Linked DNA regions of Homo sapiens: all the other regions are linked to region 3. Evidence: promoter capture Hi-C in human tissues and cell types (Jung and others, 2019). All regions are on one chromosome and are shown on one strand. Each heading gives the region's core, a stretch centred on a gene start or on the middle of the fragment in contact. The rest is flanking DNA. Distances are from core to core; before and after follow the strand shown. Region 1 has its middle 20 kb from the start of KLF18. Region 2 has its middle 38 kb from the start of KLF17. Region 3 holds the start of KLF17 (KLF transcription factor 17).

Region 1 (4,314 bases), core at 1,009-3,508, 43 kb after region 3:
CACATAAGTTTTCATATTGTCATTAGGTATTTTCATTTATTGTGCAAATGAAAATAGTGTGTTCTTAATCCCATTTGTCTCTATCTCCTAATTTCTCTAGGCTTTCTTGTTTGACACATTGATTATTTAAGAGTGTGTTTTTTAATTTCCACAGATTTGTGCATTTTTCAGTTTTTATTCTGTTACTGATTTTTAACTTACCTTTGTGGTCAGATAAGGTACTTTGTATCATATTTATTTTTAAAAAATCTACTGAGAATTGATTTGCGGCCTACTCTATGGTCTATATTAGAGAATGCCCATGTACGCTTGAGAAGAATGTGTATTGTGTTGTTGTTGGGTTGGGTGTTCTGCCTATGTCTGTTAGATCTAGTTGGTATATCGTGTTGTTCAGGTCCTCTGCTTCTTTCCTTATTTTCTGTCTGATGGTTCTATCCATTATTGAGAGTGGGGTATTGAGGTCTCCGATTTTTTCTTTCTTTCTTTTTTTTTTTGAGAGGGAGTCTTGTTCTATAGCCCAGGCTGGAGTGCAGTGGCACCATCTGATCTCATCGGCTCACTGCAACCTCCACCTCCTGGGTTCAAGCGATTCTCATGCCTCAGCCTCTGAGTAACTGGGATTACAGACATGTACTACCACGCCCAGCTAATTTTTGTATTTTTAGTAGAGACAGTGGTTTCTGCCATGTTGGCCAGGCTGGTCTCAAACTCCTGGCCTCATGTGATCTGCCCATCTTGGCCTCCGAAAGTGCTGGGATTACAGGCATGAGCTACCAGGCCCAGCTGATGTCTCTGACTATTATTGTAGAGCTGTTTCTTTCTCCCTTCAATTCTATCAGTTTTTGCTTCATATATTTTGATGGTCTGTTGTTAAGTGCATAAATGTTTATAATTGTTTTATCTTCATGCTTTATTTTACCTTTTATTAATATGTAATCCCTTTCTTTGTCTTGTGTAAACTTTTTTGATTTAAAGTCTGTTTTGTGTGATGTTAGTATAGACACCCCACTCTCTTTTGTTTACTATTTGTATGTAATATCTTTTTCCATCCTTTTACTTTCAACCTATTTGTGTCTTTATCTAACATGATTTCTTGTAGACATCATATACTTGATTCATGTTTTTTATACATTATGCTGATTTCTGTATTTTGATTGGAGAGTTTAATCCGTTTACATTTAAAGTATCTACTGACAAAGAGGGATTTAATTGTGCCCTTTTGCTTTTGTTTTCTATATGCCTTATACCCTTTGTGTTCTTCATTTCTTGCATTACTGTCCTGTGTTTAGTTAAGATTTTTGTAGTGAAAAGTTTTAAATGCTTGTGTGTGTGTGTGTATCCTTTTGTACATATGTTATGGATATTTTCTCTGTGGTTATCATGAAAATTACATTTGACATCCTAAAATTATAACACTAATTTGAATTTATTTATTTATTTATTTATTGAGATGGAGTCTTGCTCTGCTGCCCAGGCTAGAGTGCAGTGGTGCAATCTCAGCTCACTACAACCTCTGCCTCCCGGGTTCAAGCGATTCTCTTGCCTCAGCCTCCCGAGTAGCTGGGATTACAGAAGTGTGCAACCACGGCTAACTTTTGTATTTTTAGTAGAGACGCAGTTTTGCCATGTTGGCCAGGCTAGTCTTGAACTCCTGACCTCAGGTGATCTACCTGCCTTGGCCTCCCTAAGTGCTGGGATTACAGGCATGAGCCACCGTGCCCAACCTAATTTGAATTTATACCACCTTAACTTCAAAGGCATACAAAAACTCTGCTCCTATGCAGTTCTGTGCCCATCCCTTTCAGTTACTGATGTCATAAAATTACATTTTTGTGCATTGTATGTCCAAAAACACAAGCTTCTTAGTGATTTTTTTAATGCTTAGTCTCTTAAATAATATAAACAAAATGTGGTGTTTTAAATCAAAGTTACAGTAATACTAGCTTTTATAATGGTATATGTATTTTTTTTTTTTTGTAGAGATGGGGTCTCACTATGTTACCCATGCTGGTGTCAAACTCTTGGGCTCAAGTGATCCACCTATATTGATCTCCCAAAGTGCTGGGATTACAGTTATGAGCCACCATGGCTGGCCTCTTAATTTCTTCTTCATTTTTGATGGACAGTTTTGCCAGGTAAAGGATTCTTGCTTGACAGTTTTTTCCTTTCAACATTTTGCATATATTGATCCACTGGCTTCTGGCCTCCACAGTTTCTGGTAAGAAATCAGGAGACAATCTTATTCAGAATCTCTTGTATGTAAACAGTTGCTTCTTCCTTGCTGTTTCCAAGATTTTCTCTTTGCCTTTGGCCTTTCACAGTTTGACTATAATATTTCCTGGTGGGACCTCTCTTGAGTTTATTCCACTTCAACTTTGTTGAGCAACTTGGATGTTTGTATTCATGTTTTTCACCCAGTTTGGGGCATTTCTAGCCCTTATTTCTGCAAAAAAAAAAAAAAAAAATTCCTTTTTCCCTTTCCCTCTTTTTCTTTTGAAACTCCTACAGTGCATATGTTGGTCTGAATCTTTCTTCTACCTACTCACATCTGCTTTTGGAATCCCTTTAGTCAAATTTACATTGTAGTTATTGTACTTTTCAGCTCCAGAATTTTTTGTTCCTTTTTATGTTTTTTCTTTATTTTTCAATAAATATTGAAAAATTTTTTCATTTTATTCATATATCATTTTCTTGACTTTGTCCACTTCTTCGTTTAGCTCTTTGAGCATCTTTAAGACAGTTGCTGAGGAATGTTTTCTGTTGACATTTTTTTCCTTAGATGGGCCATACTTTAATGTTTCTTTGTATGTCTTGTGATTTTGTTGTTGTATTTGAAAACTGGACTTTTGAATCTTATAATGTGGTAACTCTGGAAATAAAATTCTCTCCTTCCCCAGGGTTTGCTTTCTTTTTTGGCACATGGATAAAAAAGGCATGCTGTTTTATTTTATTTTATTTTCATGGTTGTATGGTGTCTCTAAGCTGGGGATAAGATTGAGAAATAAATTGAAGGTCTTCTCTGAGTCTATGCCTTTCCCTGGACATGCATGGTGACTTTCCCTATTCCCTTGTGTATGTAGTTACTTCGGATGTCCTAGTCCTTAAATGTCTGGCCCCTAAAAGGGGGAAAAGGGAAAGATGAAGGGGAGGAAAGCCAGTCATTGGCTTTTTAAGTCTCCTGGAAGTCACTTTTCCAGTGTGGATTGTAAAAATGACAATGGGGGTTACAACAATGGCAGCTCACTTCTGTGACTACACCTCTACCATCAGAAGCAGCAATCAGGGATCAAAACATAGATCCCAGATACATGGAAGACAAGGTTCTTATTGCCTACCCTGGCTCCTGCAAGCCAAGTCCAAGTTGCTCCAAAAGTGTGAGAGCTGAAATTGACTGAAATTAGCCACAGTCTTCCCCTGGAAGTTGCAACCCTTGTGATAGATTCCAGAGTTCCAACATAGTTATATTAGACAGATTCTGTCAGTACAATTGACTAGGTAGAGAGATTGATTCCTGATGTTTTCTACTCTGCCACCTTCCCTGATGTCATTATGATCTTATTATTTTATTTTGAGACAGGTTCTCACTCTATCACCCAGGCTGGAGTGCAATCACAGCTCACTGCAGCCACAATCTCCCGGGCTCAAGTGATCCTCCCACATCAGCCTCCTGAGTAGCTGAGACTACAGGCACCGTGCAACCAGGCCCAGCTAATTTTTTTGTTGTTGTTGTATTTGTGTAGAGACAGGGTTTTCACACGTTGCCCAGGCTGGTCTTGAACTCCTAAGCTCAACCGATTTACCCACCTCAGCCTCCCAAAGTGCCAGGACTATAGGCATGAGCCACTGCACCCAACCCTTATTACTTTGTATTTACTCCTTTCAATAGTTATTTCTCACTTGTCATTTATTTGGTTTTTATTGTTGTTGTTGTTGTTGATTTGTTTTTGAAACAAGATCTCACTCTGTTGCCTAGGCTGTGCAATGGTGCGGTCACAACTCACTGCAGCCTCAACCTCCTGGGCTCAAGCAATCCTCCCGCCTCAGTCTCCCAAGTAGCTGGGACTAGAGGCATGTGCTACCATGCCCAGCTAATTTTTAATTTGTTTTGTAGAGACAGGGTCTCATTATGTTGCCTAGGTTGGCCTTGAACTCCTGAGATCAAGCAGTCCCCTCACCTTCGCCTCCCAAAGTGCTGGGATTATAGGCATGAGCCACTGCATCCCACCCGCTTGTCATTTCTTATTTGTTTATGCTATATAATTGTTTTCTATAGCTTTGATATTTTTCAAAGAATTAATTTTTAATTGCTTGATT
Region 2 (4,441 bases), core at 873-3,372, 38 kb before region 3:
CCCTCTACAGGGAGGTCTGAATCTCAGCCTCAGCCTCCCAAAGTGCTGGGATTACAGGCATGAGACACCGTGCCTGGCCCCTCCATGTCTTAATTATCATATTTTACAATAAGTCTTGGTAGCTGATAAAGTATGTTCTTCCTCCATTTTAATTTTCTTTAACAGTATGTTGAATTTTTATCAAATCCTTTTTTCTGCCTTTAATTAGATGATCTCATATTTTCTTCTTTAATTCATGGGCAGCTCTATTCCAAGCTTACTCCTTTCCTTGGTACTCTGCCTTCACCATAGAGAGGGTGTCTGCTCCCTACATCTGCTATGCCTGTATTATTCGGAGTTCTCTGCACATATAATTTAGTTAACCCCTTGTGACTAGTTAATCATTCTTTTCTTTTCTTCTCCTTTTTTTTTTTTTGAGACAGTCTTGCTCTGTTGCCCAGGTTGGAGTGTGTTGGCGCAAATCACAGTTCAGCCTCGACCTCCTGGGCTAAAGCAATTCTCCCACCTCAGCCTCCCAACTAGCTGGGACTATAGGCACATACCGCCACCATGCTCAGCTACATTTTTTGTTATTTTTCATAGAGGTGAGGTCTCACTCTGTTGCCCTGGCTGGTCTCAAACTCCTGGGCTCAAGCGATCCTCCCACCTCAGCCTCTCAAAGTGCTAGCATTACAAGACGTGAGCCACCACGCCTGGCCTAGTAATTCTTTATATTAAAATTTCCCTGTTCAAATTACTGGTATGGTTTCTTTTTCCTGACCGGAACCTGATTGACAAATCAGTCAGATTTAATCCTCCTGGAAAATATTTCATATATGGTATGAGATCAGAGTTCAACTTCATTTTTTCCATCCAGATAGCCAATTGTCTGAGTGCCATGTTTTGGAAAGAACATCCTTCCCCTATTGTTCTTTGGTGACGGCTCTGTCATATATCAGGAATCCATATATGCTTGGGTCCATTTCTAGCCTGTCTGTTTTACCCATTTTTCTATTTGTGCCTGCACTAATCCCTCCATGTCTTTTTTTTTTTTCTTTTTTTGAGACAGAGTCTCACTCTGTCGCCCAGGCTGGAGTGCAGTGGCGTGATCTCGGCTTACTACAACCTCTGCCTCCTGGGTTCAAGCAATTCTCCTGTCTCAGCCTCCTGAGTAGATGGGATTACAGGTGCGTGCCACCATGCGTGGCTAATTTTTGTATTTTTAGTAGAGATGGGATTTCACCATGTTGGCCAGGCTGGTATCAAATTCCTGACCTCGTGATCCACTCACCTTAGCCTCCCAAAGTGCTAAGATTACAGGCGTGAGCCACCGTACCTGGCCCCTCTGTGTCTTTTTTTTTTTTTTTTTTTTGAGACGGAGTCTTGCTCTGTCGTCCAGGCTGGAGTGCATTGGTGCAATCTAGGCTCACTGCAAGCCCCGCCTCCCGGGTTCACACCGTTCTCCAGCCTCAGCCTCCCGAGTAGCTGGGACTGCAGGCGCCCACCACCACCCCTGGCTAATTTTTTATATTTTTAGTAGAGACGGGGTTTCACCATGTTAGCCAGTATGGTCTCCATCTCCTGACCTCGTGATATGCCCGCCTTGGCCTCCCAAAGTGCTGGGATTACAGGCGTGAGCCACAGCACCAGGCTCTCTCTGTGTCTTAATTATCGTATTTTACAATAAGTCTTGGTAGCTGATAAAGCATGTCCTTCCACTATTTTAATTTTCTTTAAAAGTATGTTGAATTTTTATCAAATCCTTTTTATCTGCCTTTAATTGGATGATCTCATATTTTCTTCTTTAATTCATGGTGAATTATATTGAATTTTTTTTTTTTTTTTTTTTTTGCAGGATCTTGTTCTGTTACCCAGGCTGGAGTGCGATGGCGTGATCTCGGCTCACTGCAACCTCTGTCTCCTAGGCTCAAACAATCCTCCTGCCTCAGCCTCTCAAGTAGCTGGGACTATAGGCATGTGCCACCATGCGTGGCTAATTTTTGTATTTTTTGTAGGGATGGAGTTTTACCATGTTGCCCAACCTGGTCTCGAACTCCTGGACTGAAGCAATCCACCCACCTTGGTCTGCCACAGTGTTGGGATTATGGGCAGAAACCACCGCACCCCACCTCAAATTTACATAATTTAATCTTATATGTTAATTTAATCAAAATGGACAACTAATATGAAAGAAAATCTACTGCATGAGGAAGTATACCACTGTAAGATAGAGTAACAAAACAGATTTAGTTAATCTGTTGTGCCTAGGAGGCAGAGGTTGCAGTGAGCCAAGATAGCGCCATTGCACTCCAGCCTGGGTAACAGAACAAGATCCTGTAAAAAAAAAAAAAAAAAAAATTAGTTAATCAGATTCAGTTAAACAGATTTAGTTAATCTGTTTTGTTATTGTTGGTTCTGTAACACTATCTCATGTTAAACTAAATCTGTTTAGTTTAAAGCACTAGGTTTAAACGAAGCTTAGCTCAAAACTCAAAGCTCTAGGTTTCTAGTATTGGCATTTTCCCCATGGTAGTTTTTTTTTTTTTTCTTTTGAGACAGAGTCTCATGTCACCCAGGCTGGAGTCCAGTGGCACAATCTTGGCTCACTGCAACCTCCACCTCCCGGGTTCAAGCAATTCTCTTGCCTCAACCTCCCAAGCAGCTGGAACTACAGGTGCCCACCCCCGCACCTGTCTAATTTTTGTATTTTTTTTCCCATAGAGATGGGGTTTTGCCATGTTGGCCAGGCTGGTCTTGAACTCGTGACCTCAAGTGATCCACCTGCCTCAGACTCCCAAGGTGCTGGAATTACAGGCATGAGCCACTGCACTTGGCCTCCCCATGGTAGTCTTGTTTCCATATGGGCACATCACCGATTTCAGCTTTTTGTGTTTGTTTCAGGCTCCTAGAGATTTTCCTTAGTTCCTTGTACTCCTAAGTGTATAAATATCTATTTGTTGAAATGTATCCACTATCAATATATTTTAAAGAAGAGCTTTTCAAAATATGTAGTGAGCCATACCGCTAGTGGCAGAAGTCTTTTTTGTTGTTACATCATCTAGAATGTTATTATATGTGACATTACCAACTTGTTCTAAAATGTTAAATAATTTTTCTTAATGGACCTGGCAACACCATATATTGGGAAAGTTAATGTCCAGAGCCTTTCCATTTCAGTTATTTCTCCGAGATTCCATAATTTTGCTTAGGGGAGAGACTAGAAGTGGTGCATAACCAGAATAATATCCCCATAATCACATAAGCCAGACCAATTCCTTAGGAACCAAAAGTAAGCTCATGTACCACAGATGAAATAAGTCCCAGTAAATGATCACCAACAGTCTAATTGGGTAATTGAGCAACTGAATAGCGGAAGATTAAGATACAGTGATGTATTGAACTCAGGGAAATATCATAAGGATTAATACAACATTCATTATAATTACATTGGCTATTGGCCACAGGAACTAATCCATTTTGAATGAAACATTAAAACCCTTTAATGGTGGTGGCTATTTGTGGAAAGAGTGTGGAAGTATTGGAAATTACACCGGGGACTGTGTGCATTCGGAGGGTTTTATTGGTCCTAGACCAGCAGCAGTCAGAAACAATTTTGTGTATGTCCCCAGGCTTCAAAAGCCTCCCTAGATGAGGGACATTGGTATCATGGGGGTTCCCTGAGAACAGATTCAACACTCAGAGATAGGAAGTTTCTTTATGAACAGAAGGGATAGTTTAAGAAAAGTGTCATATTTTTATCCCTGGATTTTTGACACACAAAAGCCATACACCAATATTCAGACAAAGGTCCATCAGTCATTTTGAAACTTTTCTTGATCTTTTTGATAATTCTGTTCTTTCTGGAGGGGAAGATCCTTATTACCTTGGTAAGGCAAGTTGTCTCTACCTTAGAAACGCGACCCCAAACCAAACTGATACATTCAGAAGGGAAAATGTGACCAGCACTGTGATAACTGCTTGGTAAAGCTGACCTCGTCATTTGGTCTCTTGTTCATAGAGCAGAGGGGGCCAGCACACTCACTGTGTCTTTAAACTTTTTTTTTTTTTTTTTTTTGAGACAGGGTCTCACTCTATTGCCCAGGTTGGAGTGCAGTGGTGCCATCATAGGCCACTATACCTTCAAACTCGTGAGCTCAAACAATCCTCTCACCTCATCCTCCTGAGTAGCTAGGACTACGGGGCATGCCACCACACCCAGCTAATTAAAAAAAAATTTTTTTTTTGTAGAGATGAGGCCTTGCTATGTTACCCAGGCTGGGCTCAAACTCCTGGGCTCAAGCAAGCCTTCTGCCTCTGCCTCCCAAAGTGCTAGGATTATAGGCATGAGGCACCACACCCAGCTACCTTTAAACTTTTGAGGTGAGAATTGAGTAGGGTTTTTTTTTTTTGGTTAAATGAAAGAAAATTGTTAATTGCTTAAGTTTTTTCCTTGCAGAAGAGA
Region 3 (4,578 bases), core at 1,383-3,882:
CCTGGAGTTGAGAGCTGAGCCATTGTTAGCCATAGAATCATAGCCACCATTTCTCAAGGGCCTGCTCTCAGCCCCACTCCATACTAGTAGTTGGGGACCCTAAGATACATAAGAGCCTTCTTACCCCACTTGTTATGATAGAGCAAATGTCCCTGCTCTCACTAAAGGCCCACTTGTCTATTGGTACTCCAGATCCTGTCCTTTCTTGATTCATCCATGACTTTGCTCTTATAATTGAGCCCTCTGTTTCTATATCAGTTTCTCCTTTGGTGCATCCCCATCAGCCTATAACATGCCCTCCCTTAACTGCCACCTCATTTTTCTGCTCTCATTCGTAGCAAAACTTCTTGTTTAGAGTTTAGAGATAATGTCCCACTCCATCAACTCCTCTTCCCTTGGCAGCCCAGTCCAATCAGGCTTCCTTTCTACTGCACTTGGTTTTGTCAGAGTCACCAGTGACCTCCGTCTTGCCAAATCCAGTAGTCACTTACCTGTTTATTTCAACCTCTCAGGTTCTTTGGATGACTTTGCTGTTCTGCTGGGCCTTAAATGTAGGAGTCCCCAGGCTCTGTCCTCTGTCCTGTTGTCAAACTATCTCCAGTGTTGATAGCATCCACTCTAATGGCCTTCTAACTACCATCTCTATGCTGACAACACCCAAGTTTACATTTACAGCCCTGACCTTCTCTGAGCATAATTAATAGACATCTCAAAATCAGTGTCTAAAATGGAATTCTTGTTTCAGTTGCCTCCAAATCTGCTCCTCTTCCTATCTTTCCATATACCAAGTGGCACGATCATCATGCAGTTGCTCAAGCCAATAATCTAGGAGCCTTTTTGATTCCTCTTTCCCTCCCTCCCTACCCCCTTCTGATCCATTACAAATTCTGTTTTTCATTCTTTTTTTTTAGAGATGGGATCTCACTATGTTGCCAAGGTTGGAGTGCACTGGCCATTCACAGGTGTAGTAATCCCATTACCAATCAGCATAGGAGTTTTGACCTACTCTATTTCTGACCTGGGCCAGTTCATCCCTCCTTAGGCAACCTGGTGGTGCCCCACTCCTGGGAGCTCACCATACTGATGCTGAACTTAGTGTGGACACCCAATCAGCACAGCACACTGCAGCCCAGACCTCCTGGGCTCAAGTGGTCTCCCGCCTCAGCCTCCTGAGTAGCTGGGACTACAGGTGGGCACCACCTCCATGACCAAACACTGACATCTCTTTCTTGGACAGCTCCTTTTTTATTTATTTTATTTTATTTTATTTTATTTTATTTATTTTATTTTATTTTATTTTATATTTTATTTTATTTTATTTTTTGAGACGGAATTTTGCTCTTGTTGCCCAGGCTGGAGTGCAATGGCGCGATCTCGACACACTGGAACCTCCACCACCCGGATTCAAGCGATTCTCCTGCCTCAGCCTCCTGAGTAGCTGGGATTACAGGCACGCGCCACCACGCCTGGCTAATTTTTTATTTTTAGTAGAGACGGGGTTTCACCATGTTGGCCAGGCTGGTCTCAAACTCCTGACCTCAAGTGATCTGCCCGCCTCAGCCTCCCAAAGTGCTGGCGTTGCAGGCGTGAACCACTGCGCCCAGCCTCATCTCCTTTAGATTTCTAACTGGTGTCTCTGCACCCCTCTGGCCCTTTATAATCCATAAGGAGCCAAATGGTTTATTTTAAAAACATATATCAGATCACATCAAATTCCTGTTTAAAAGCATCAGTGGCTTCCCGCCACACTTAGAATAAAATCCAAATTCCTTTCTATGGTCTTCAAGGCCCTATCCCTCTGTCCTCGTGTCACTGTCCATGTGGTATCACCGTGGTCACCTTGCCTTCAATTTCCTTCTAGCACCGTTGGGCTCTTTTTTGCCTTAGAGCCCTTCAATCTTCCTATGGCTGGCTCCTTTCAGGCATTTCATTTTCAGCTCACATTTCTGTTTTGGTTTTCCATAGCACTCACCACCACCTAAAATTATAATAGTTAACAACTTTATTACTCATTTCTTGTCTTCCCGTATAAGATGGAAATTGACAGCAAGGACTTTGTTCTGTCCTGTTTACTATTTTACCCCTAGTTCAGAGATCAGTGCCCAACACACACGGGGCACTCAGTAAACACTGCGGAATAAACAGGTTGTGCCATGAAGCTCCCAGTCTTCAGTTCGTACAGACAAGGGACAGAGGTGCACAGACTGTAGCAGAAAAGCTCCAGCCCTTCCAAAGCTTATGGCAAGATCCCGACCTGAGAGAGTGCTGGTGGAGGCTCTCCTATCGGTAGAGGCCCTACACCCAACCTTGCCTCTCTCTCCAGCCTCGCCTCTCTCTCCAGCCTCCTCCTGGCTGGAGTTGGAGACCTGGGTGTCCTCAGTCCCCACTTGGGTGAAACAGTTGCTCAGACTGAGGGGTGGAATGGGTCGGTTGGGTGGGCGGACCAAATTCCTTTAAGAAGCGTTCAAGGCCTGAAGTGGCTGGCTGTCCGTGAGGCTGCCTTGGTTGGGGCATGGTGAGGGTGGGTGGCAGCCTGGGGCAGGGCTGCGAGGGCGGCGCAGGGCGGGACGGGTGGGGCCTGACCCCGCCCCTTGGCGCAGCTGTAAATAGGTAAATAGAAGGTGATTGTGGCGTGGCGATGTACCGATACCCGCCTGCGACGCCGTGGTGGCTGGTTCCCTGTCTCTTCAGTAGAGAGTCTAGACCCCACCCAGTCTTCATGTACGGCCGACCGCAGGCTGAGATGGAACAGGAGGCTGGGGAGCTGAGCCGGTGGCAGGCGGCGCACCAGGCTGCCCAGGTGAGTCAGGTGCCAGCCCCTGGCAGGCCGGGCGGGCCCAGGCTAGGGGGCGGCGGGGAGGGGAGGCCTTGGAGGAGAGGTGAGGCGGAGGGAAGCAGAAACCCGAGGGGTAGAAATCCGAGGGGAGGGGTGGCAAAGGAAGGAATGGGAGATTGGGGAGGGGTTGCAAAGGGAGGGATGGGAGATTGGGGAGGGGTTGCAAAGGGAGGGATGGGAGACTGGGGAGGGATTGGAAAGGGAGGGTTGTGAGATTGAGGGTGTAAATCATACGTCGTTTATTCCAACAATGTTCGCCCAGCAGTAGAGCTTGTGTTGGCCGCGTGGCGGGTAAGAGGGTTCTAGGCAACTTTCTGGTGAGGGACTTGAGTAGGCAGGACAGCAAAGACCAAGTTAGGAAGTGAGCAGGAAACAACAGGAAAAAAAAAAAAAACCCCAAAAATGTTAATTGGAGCCCTACTAAGTGGTAGGCTTTTCCCAGACCCTGGAAATACAATGATGAATTTACCATGAAACAGATATATATAAAATTGTATGAATAAATCGTTAACTGAATGATTGGAATTGTACAGCGTTACATGAAGAAGAAGTCAGGGGCGCGTGGGAGCAGATACCAGAGGTGTTTGACCCGATTTGGGAGGCTTAGGAGACAGCTGAGACTCTGTTCTGGGACTAAAGAACCCGTCAGGTGAAAGGTTCCCAGGTCTGAGACCACAGGCTGCATGCTTCCTCTTAGGAGGAACTGAAAGACCAGGGCCTAGACAGTGATGGAAGGGTGGCCCCAGGGACACCATTGAGATCATTCAGGGCTTGTTTATTCCAAGAACAGTGGGAAGCCATTGATGAGTTTAAACATAATCTGTCTCAATTAGATTTGCATTTTCAAAGGAGTGCCCTGGTGGATGTGGGCTGGATTCAAGGCAACAGTTAGAAAGCTTTTGTGATAATCCAGGTGAGAATTCAAATGGCGGCCTACCTGCAGAAGTGAGAGTGGAGATGGAGAAGCTAAATATATCATAGATTGTGGAGATGTTTTGGAGGCAGAGACCACAATCATTGGTCCCCGGGTGGTGAGGGAGACATCTAGAGTAACAGATTTCTTGCTTGCACAATTGGGTGACAATAGTGACATTTTCTGAGAGAGAGTGAAGGATGAGAAGGACAAGATTAATTTGTTGTTTGAGGGAGGTGGGCAAAGATGCTAGTGAATTTTGGCCATAGTCCATTAGAAGAGCATGTGGGCCATCCGAAAGGACTCAAACAATAGGTAGCTGGAAAATTCAGGAGCCATCTTCGCCAGAGCGAAGATTCCAGATTTAGGAATAGTTGGACTGTAAACAGAAACAAAACCACTGGCATGGGGAAGCTTGCCCAGAGAGAGCAGGGAAAGGGAAATCTGCAAAAGAAACTGTGAAGGAGGGGGTCTGAGAGAAGGGAAGGAGAAAAACTTGGAAAGTGTGGCCATGCGTGTTAGAGAGGCCAAGCATTCTAAGAAGGGTGTGGCCAGTGGTCGTATAAGCTCCTGAGAGTTCAAGCGAGGAGTCTGGAAAGTGCTGCTTGGTCATAGTGGGATGGAAGTCATCAGTGGTGACCTTTATGAAAGCTGGTTCTGTGGAGAGATAGAGGCCAGAGCAAATTTGGGAGACTCATAAGGCAAAGTAGTGGTGAAGGCATGTTTAGACAACTTAATTTGCCATGAAGGACTGGGAAAACAAGAGGGCCATTGCTGAGAGTTAGGGAGGAGAGGCTGAGCACCCCAGAGGTGCCCACCCAATAGTCAT

The links. Contacts are between HindIII fragments. The study calls those that stand out against the background at their distance.
Region 1: a fragment that was not itself captured here is called in contact with the fragment with the promoter of KLF17 in region 3 in 1 of the 25 tissues and cell types used here (mesendoderm cells).
Region 2: a fragment that was not itself captured here is called in contact with the fragment with the promoter of KLF17 in region 3 in 2 of the 25 tissues and cell types used here (mesendoderm cells and thymus).

What each region holds. Positions count from the first base shown.
Region 1 is chr1:44,159,524-44,163,837 of GRCh38, forward strand. No RefSeq gene overlaps it. Among named protein-coding and RNA genes, the nearest start is that of KLF18, 20 kb to the left of the region's middle. The HindIII fragment of the contact is 5,737 bases long and covers 1-4,314 here.
Region 2 is chr1:44,078,906-44,083,346 of GRCh38, forward strand. It overlaps a transcript of KLF17 not described here. Among named protein-coding and RNA genes, the nearest start is that of KLF17, 38 kb to the right of the region's middle. The HindIII fragment of the contact is 4,690 bases long and covers 1-4,441 here.
Region 3 is chr1:44,116,189-44,120,766 of GRCh38, forward strand. It overlaps KLF17 (KLF transcription factor 17), which reads left to right and starts at 2,633. Exons shown (of 4, transcript NM_173484.4): 1 at 2,633-2,800. The coding sequence starts at 2,720. It also overlaps the pseudogene RN7SL479P. RefSeq lists a promoter at 1,622-2,610 and an enhancer at 3,179-3,946. The HindIII fragment of the contact is 4,517 bases long and covers 1-3,947 here.